Linked DNA regions of Homo sapiens: region 2 is linked to region 1. Evidence: promoter capture Hi-C in 16 types of primary human blood cells and fetal thymus (Javierre and others, 2016). All regions are on one chromosome and are shown on one strand. Each heading gives the region's core, a stretch centred on a gene start or on the middle of the fragment in contact. The rest is flanking DNA. Distances are from core to core; before and after follow the strand shown. Region 1 holds the start of MANF (mesencephalic astrocyte derived neurotrophic factor). Region 2 holds the start of KIAA1143.

What was found. The method cuts DNA at HindIII sites, captures the fragments that hold promoters and counts their contacts. A CHiCAGO score of 5 or more calls a contact.
Region 2: the fragment with the promoter of KIAA1143 here is called in contact with the fragment with the promoter of MANF in region 1 in 1 of 17 cell types (neutrophils); the score reaches 9.2 in neutrophils.

Annotation. Positions count from the first base shown.
Region 1 is chr3:51,383,632-51,386,719 of GRCh38, reverse strand. MANF (mesencephalic astrocyte derived neurotrophic factor) reads right to left here and starts at 1,429. Exons shown (of 4, transcript NM_006010.6): 1 at 1,284-1,429; 2 at 385-512. The coding sequence starts at 1,377. It overlaps DOCK3 (dedicator of cytokinesis 3), which reads right to left. Exons shown (of 53, transcript NM_004947.5): 53 at 2,522-3,088. RefSeq lists a silencer at 1,234-1,603 and an enhancer at 1,664-2,013. The HindIII fragment of the contact is 4,055 bases long and covers 1-2,938 here.
Region 2 is chr3:44,760,281-44,763,483 of GRCh38, reverse strand. KIAA1143 reads left to right here and starts at 1,865. Exons shown (of 3, transcript NM_020696.4): 1 at 1,865-1,989. The coding sequence starts at 1,882. It overlaps KIF15 (kinesin family member 15), which reads right to left and starts at 1,690. Exons shown (of 35, transcript NM_020242.3): 1 at 1,600-1,690. The coding sequence starts at 1,618. RefSeq lists enhancers at 1,640-1,919, 2,710-3,203. The HindIII fragment of the contact is 21,704 bases long and covers 1-3,203 here.

The DNA.
Region 1 (3,088 bases), core at 180-2,679:
TGGTCTTACCCCACTTCAATGATAACCCTTCCTCAGAGACTTCTTGGCCACTCTAAATCAGCACCTGCTGGTCCATTTTCTTCATGACACCCAGACATTGCATTATTTGTGTGTCCGACTGTCACTTCTTTCCCCTGATATTCCCAGTGCCTAGCACATAGTAGGTGCTTAATAAAGACTAACAGGATAAAAAAAAATCACAGTTGCAGAACACATGCTGCTTTGGGAAGGACATAGAAGCACTTCAGTCTTCTCACATTAGTTTATGGAGAGAGTAGCTGGCTTCCTGAACAGAGAGGTGGGCAAGGCCTTTTATCAAACGGCTGGTGAAGCCGAGGGTTAACATGAGCCAGGGCCAGTTGGGGAGGATCACCAGCTACTTACCAACCGATTCTCTTTGCCTCTTGCTTCCCGGCAGAACTTTATAAGTTCGTTTTCAATAGTGGCTGGTGAGAATGTGACATCTCTGTCTTTGAGGTCCTGGTAAAATCTTCCCAGATAAGAAATACAAACTGGAAAAGAGAGGGACGGGAGATGCTCAGCAATCACCAAGCTGTTCCAATCCACCAGAAAAGAACTCCGCCAGCAATTTTAATAGGAGACACGGAGATGAATCATTAGAGGTGAGCTTTTCCATCACCGATTTTTCTCAGGTGTCTACAGGTAGACAGAACCCGGTTCCAAGTGGCGGGGGTCCCCTGGTACACCCAGGGCATCAAAGGACCAAGCATCACCCAATGACCTATAAACGACTTCTCCCTGCTCCTTTCATCAAGTTTAAGCCCATGGTGAACACGTGTCCTTGAGACGGGACTCACTGTGACCTCATAAATGGAGAGACTGGAAGGTGAAGAGAAAAATGATCAAAATGCTGCTGCTAATTTCCAAATACAACAGCGGACCCAGAGGTGCAGCTTCGTGATCCCAACAGACAGGGCGCAGCACCCACGGCCAGCCCTGGAGCTCCCGACGCCGAACGGGGAGCGGTAACCTCTAGATGGTGGTGGGGACAATAACTCAGGAGTGATGGAGATTTCAGGACAAGTTTTCAACGGGATCTAGTCTCAACTTTTCTTCGTCGGACCAATGTTTTCTAGGCCCAAGAAAGATTTACTAGGGCGGGCGCCGGAGCCTCCTCATGCAGGCCCCGCGGGGACCTGCTGTCGCCCCCGCCCCCGCCCCCGCCCTCGCCCTCTTGGCCCCGGCCGTCTGGTGATGTTGTGGGGTTCAGCGCCGCCGCCAGAACGGTCACGGAGCGCGGCCCCCGGCCCCCTATCCCGCACCTTCGCAGTCGCCCGGCCGCAGCGCCCGGCTGCCCGGCAGCACGCTCAGAGCCAGCGCCACCGCCAGCCCCTGCGTGGCCCACATCCTCCTCATCCTCCTCATCCTCCTCCTCCTCCTCCTCCTCCGCTGCCGCCGCCGACCGACTGAACCGCACCCGCCGCGCCGCACCGCCTCCAAGTCCCGGCCGCGCGCCGTAGCTCCCCATTGGCGGGGGGCCCCCCGGCGCCCTCCCACATGCCACTTCCCCATTGGTCCAGGAGCCGCGAGCCCAGACGGGCGGCTCCACGCTGCCCTCCCTCATTGGCTGGTGGTGTCTGAGCCCTAGACAGTTGTCGGCCGCTGATTGAACCCGGGCTGGCCGCAGGAAGCGACTACAGCAGCGACGGAAGCGGTGTGGGCCGCCATCTTGGGTAAGGGCAGCGACTGTGGCTGAGGCTGGGTACTGCTAGCTGAATGGGGTTCGGCCACGCCTTACATCTGTTGAGTTGACCCGCGTACCCCTGCCCTGGGCCCCAGGCTCCCTCGAAAACCCCTGCTGATCTCCTCGCCCGGACTCCGACTCGTGGTGCAGGAGTTCTGGGGTCAGCCAAGACAACAGGTTAGGCAGGAAGGGCGGGCGGCCGCAGGCAAGGCTCAAAGAGGTTTCTTTTTTCTTCTTTCATTCGCGTGGGCAACGGATCCAACCTTTGAAAGCCCACCTGCTGATCCTCCACCTGACCGGAGCCCGCCGTGCATAGGCTGATAGGAGACGTGCGGGGTGGACGGACTGCGGGACATCTGAAGGAAGGGCTCAAGGCGCGCCAAGCTCAAAGCTGGGCCGCCACTCTAGACCGTGGAGGGAAGCGCCCGGGCCAGATCATCGGTCGAGGACATGGGGTCGCCTCAGAGTGGGAAGGTGAGGGGCTCGGGAGGTGCCCTTACAAGCTCTGAATCGTGGCTTGGTGGCTGGCCAGCCTCCTCCTGCCTCCCCGGCTAGGCCCTCGGGGTCCCCCGCTGCCGTGGGACCTCCTGAGTGGGGTCCCGGGAATCACCAGAGAAGCACTGGAGGATGTTTCCTTTTCGACTGCCCTCCTTTCAAGTGCCCTCCTGGCTGCCTGCCTTCAAGGCAGGATGCGGGAACCGTTGGCTCTACTCAGTGCAAAAAGGACATGTCTATAGGGCTAAAAAGGGCTTGGAGCCCGGCGACAAGGGTTGGAGAGGGGCACATCCTCTGCTCCCATTCAGTGAATTCAGTGGATCAGTATCACGTATTTATCTTTAATTCACATCACAGCAGTCAAGGAAGTGGGGAAAGGGGGAAAAAAAATCAAGTGGCAGATATTTACATCTAAAATTCACATTACTTGTTGGATTTTGAACATGCTACCACAATATATACAGTAAAATACCTCTTGGGACAATGGTACAAATTTTGTTTCCTTTAACTTTGCTTTTCTGGTACAGGTAAGATCATTTTTAAATCACTTTTTTTCTTTAAACATGAATACACAAAAGAAATGGTTAGAAGTTTCCTTGTTTTAAATAAGCACAGAATGCGGGAGGTTAAAAACACATTTATAGTGCTGAATACCAATTGGACATCACACTCTATACATTTTTTGCTCAAATTCCTGTACAAATACACAGCATTCAAATAGGTATTTACAAATAAGCTTGAAAGAATGAAAATCAGTATTTTACAATCTTTTCAAAGGGTTCTCATCTCTGGCCTCCCATTTCCCCTCAGACTGACTTATTCTCCAACAAAAGGGATTTCAGAATGTGTCCTTTTCATTTAGTTAGGGAAAATGGAGAGGGAAAACAA
Region 2 (3,203 bases), core at 616-3,115, 6.6 Mb after region 1:
CTAAAAATAAAAAAATTAGCTGGGCATGGTGGCGCGTGCCTGTAATCCCAGCTACTTGGGAGACTCAGGCAGGAGAATCTCTTGAACCCGGGAGGCGGAGGTTGCAGTGAGCCAATATCGCACCACTGCACTCCAGCCCGGCAATAGAGCAAGACTCTGTCTCAAAAATAAAAAAGAGAGAGAGAGATAGCCTTCGGGGCACAAAGTAAAAGTTGCAAAGACCACTGCACGGGCTCTCTTCTCCCATGTGTTCCCACTTCATGCTCCAGGCCTCTGGGCTGCTGGGAATGCAAGAAGCACTTTAACTGGGAAGTCATCAACCTCAATTTTGCCAACAAACTTAAAGGAGTGGAAAAGTTCCCCATGGCATCACCACCATCATAAAGGAGAGTGCTCCCACCACTTTAGAAAGGTTCTCAAATTTGGTTTTCAGACAAGAGCCCTCAGTCACATACATATATCTCATTAAATAAGCAGATGTTTTACTTATTTAACAGGCATCAAATTTTTTGCTTGAGTCCAGATTTAGTGACTGATCCATAAAGTGGAAACAAAGAACAAACAGTATGATTGTTCAGAAAGCAGGATGAACATTTCTCTCCAATAAGGTACCATTTTGTGAGCTCATAGTCCTTGAATACTGAAAATGATGAAAGGAAAAGGAATATTTTATATGCAAAAAGGTAGCATAAGGAGGTGTTCCGATTAGGTGTGATCGACCTAAAAGATTAATGAAACAACAAACCCATCAAAAACGACTACAATTGACAGAAAGCTAGAAACATTAACGGCGTTGGAAAGCTCAAATGACAGAAGTTCACAAATTCTTAATCATCTAATCCAGGCCTCTCCTCATTACCATTCAGACCACTCACAAAGATCCCATTAAATCAGCTCATAATCAGGTTTACAAAAATAAGACTCCTTAAGAGATGTGGCAATGTGAGAAGTGGAGCACGTACACAGGCACAGCAAATGACTACGTTAGTGAAAACTGTAGGGTTTATCATAAGCAAAATGACAGTGCTCTCCTCCGTGAAAAAGAGAAAGAAATCGGACGGGTCTCCTTTAAGTGAAAATAGAGACTGTGAGAACATAAAGACATTGCTGACATCTGTGTTTTAACATTCCATTTATTTAAGGAAAGAGGAGAAAGAAATGTTTGGAATATAAATAAACCCTTCCCTATAGGAAGGTCAGAAATGTAGAAATACGCAGAAGCTGGTGGGAGCAAAAGCCGATCCTGAGACAAGGATATCTAGAGAGGTAGCCCTGGTCGGGATGTGGGAAGAGGCCTGCGAAGAAACAGCAGAACCAAGGGAAAGAAAGGGAAGAACGTCAGGTCCACTGCTCATCCCGAGCGCCTAGAACTGCGCCAGACTCCTGGCATGCGCACAGGACACTGAAGGAAGGGATGAGCTTTTCGGCTAGCGTATTGTCTTTGAGCGACAGAGCGGGATTCCCAAACGTCCCCGCCGGTCACTCAGCTCCTGCAGTTCATGCCTAGCAAGAACCTTGCGGGCGGTCCGAGGCTGCCATCCTTTCACAGCTGTATTTGGGGGCAAAAATAGGGTAACGAAGCCGGGGGCCCAGACTTACTTTTGCAGCCGGGTGCCATAGCGCCCTCACCCCTCGATCCCGAAAACAATGCAGCCGGTGCCTCCACCTCCCGACTGCACCGCGCGCGACTGAATTCCGCCCGCTCAAGATGGCCGCAAATTTGAATTTGGCGCTTGGATCGGACGTTGACGCCCGCATGGAGGCCGCCATGTTGCCCGGCCTACGCATCGGGGGCGTGGCCCAGTGACGTCACAGCTAAGCGCCTCTGTATCGTCGCGAATCCGTCGCGGAACCTGTCTTCTGTCTTTACCCAGAGCTACCATGAGCAAGCGGAACCAGGTATCGTACGTGCGGCCAGCCGAGCCGGCGTTTCTGGCCCGCTTCAAGGAACGGGTCGGCTACAGGGAGGGACCCACCGTAGAGACTAAGGTGAGCCTTCGCCAGTCGTGTTTCTTCGGAAGCGCAGCCAGCCCGCCACTTTCAACTTTTGCCTCTACTTGGAGGGTGGGTGCTGTCGGGTCCCTCTTTTCACCCGCGCTCGAACCCAATTCCGGTGGAACTCGGACCCCCAGGCTGGTTCTTTTCAAGCGACCACAGCCCCCTACGCCCAGGAAGCTCTGTAGTTTTCAGAGCGCTGCTGTGTTCCTGAAAATGAACTGACGTGTAAACCACCTGGTCCTTGGTAGATGGTAAAGAAAGATCACTTTATTGTCTCTTCTTTCTCACTTGTTTACCTCAAAAGCTGTGAGTTCGCAGGGTGAGTTAGAGTTACAGCGTCGTCCCGTATTCCAGATAAGGACACAGGCCACTCGATCAAATGACCCCCGCCCCAACCATGTCCTAGGACTCGAGTCTGGAACGTCTTCGGAGGAATGTCCTGAATCTGTTTCTATGCTTTGTTAATTAAAAATAAATAAAAATAATATAGAGAAGGTCGGGCACAGTGGCTCACGCCTGTAATCCCAGTACTTTGGGAGGCCTAGGTGGGCGGATCACCTGAGGTCAGGAGTTCGAGACCAGCAGAGCCAATAGCCAATATGGTGAAACCCCCCGTCTCTGCTAAAAATACAAAAATTAGCCGGGCATGGTGGCACATGCCTGTAGTCCCAGCTACTCCGGAGGCTGAGACAGAATCGCTCGAACCCGGGAGGTGGACGTTGCAGTGAGTTGAGATGGCGCAGCTGCACTCCAGCCTGGACAACAGAGCGAGACTCCGTCTCAAAAAAAAAAAAAAAAAGCCGGGCCTGGTGGCTCACGCCTGTAATCCCAGCGCTCTGGGAGGCTGAGGCGGCAGATCACGAGGTCAGGAGATCGAGACCATCCTGGCTAAAACAGTGAAACCGCGTCTCTACTAAAAATACAAAAAATTAGCCAGGCATGGTGGCGGGCGCCTGTAGTCCCAGCTACTCGGGAGGCTGAGGCAGGAGAATGGCGTGAACCCAGGAGGAGGAGCTTGCAGTGAGCCGAGATCGCGCCACTGCACTCCAGACTGGGCGACAGAGCGAGACTCCGTCTCAAAAAAAAGAAAAAAAAGAAGAGTAAGCAGAAGCCGTAAATATCCTGGGTCTAAATAGAAGAAGAGGAGCTTCAGGAAAGAGCCACACCTGACTATTGTTGTCTAGGGCCGGAGGGATCAGTATTGA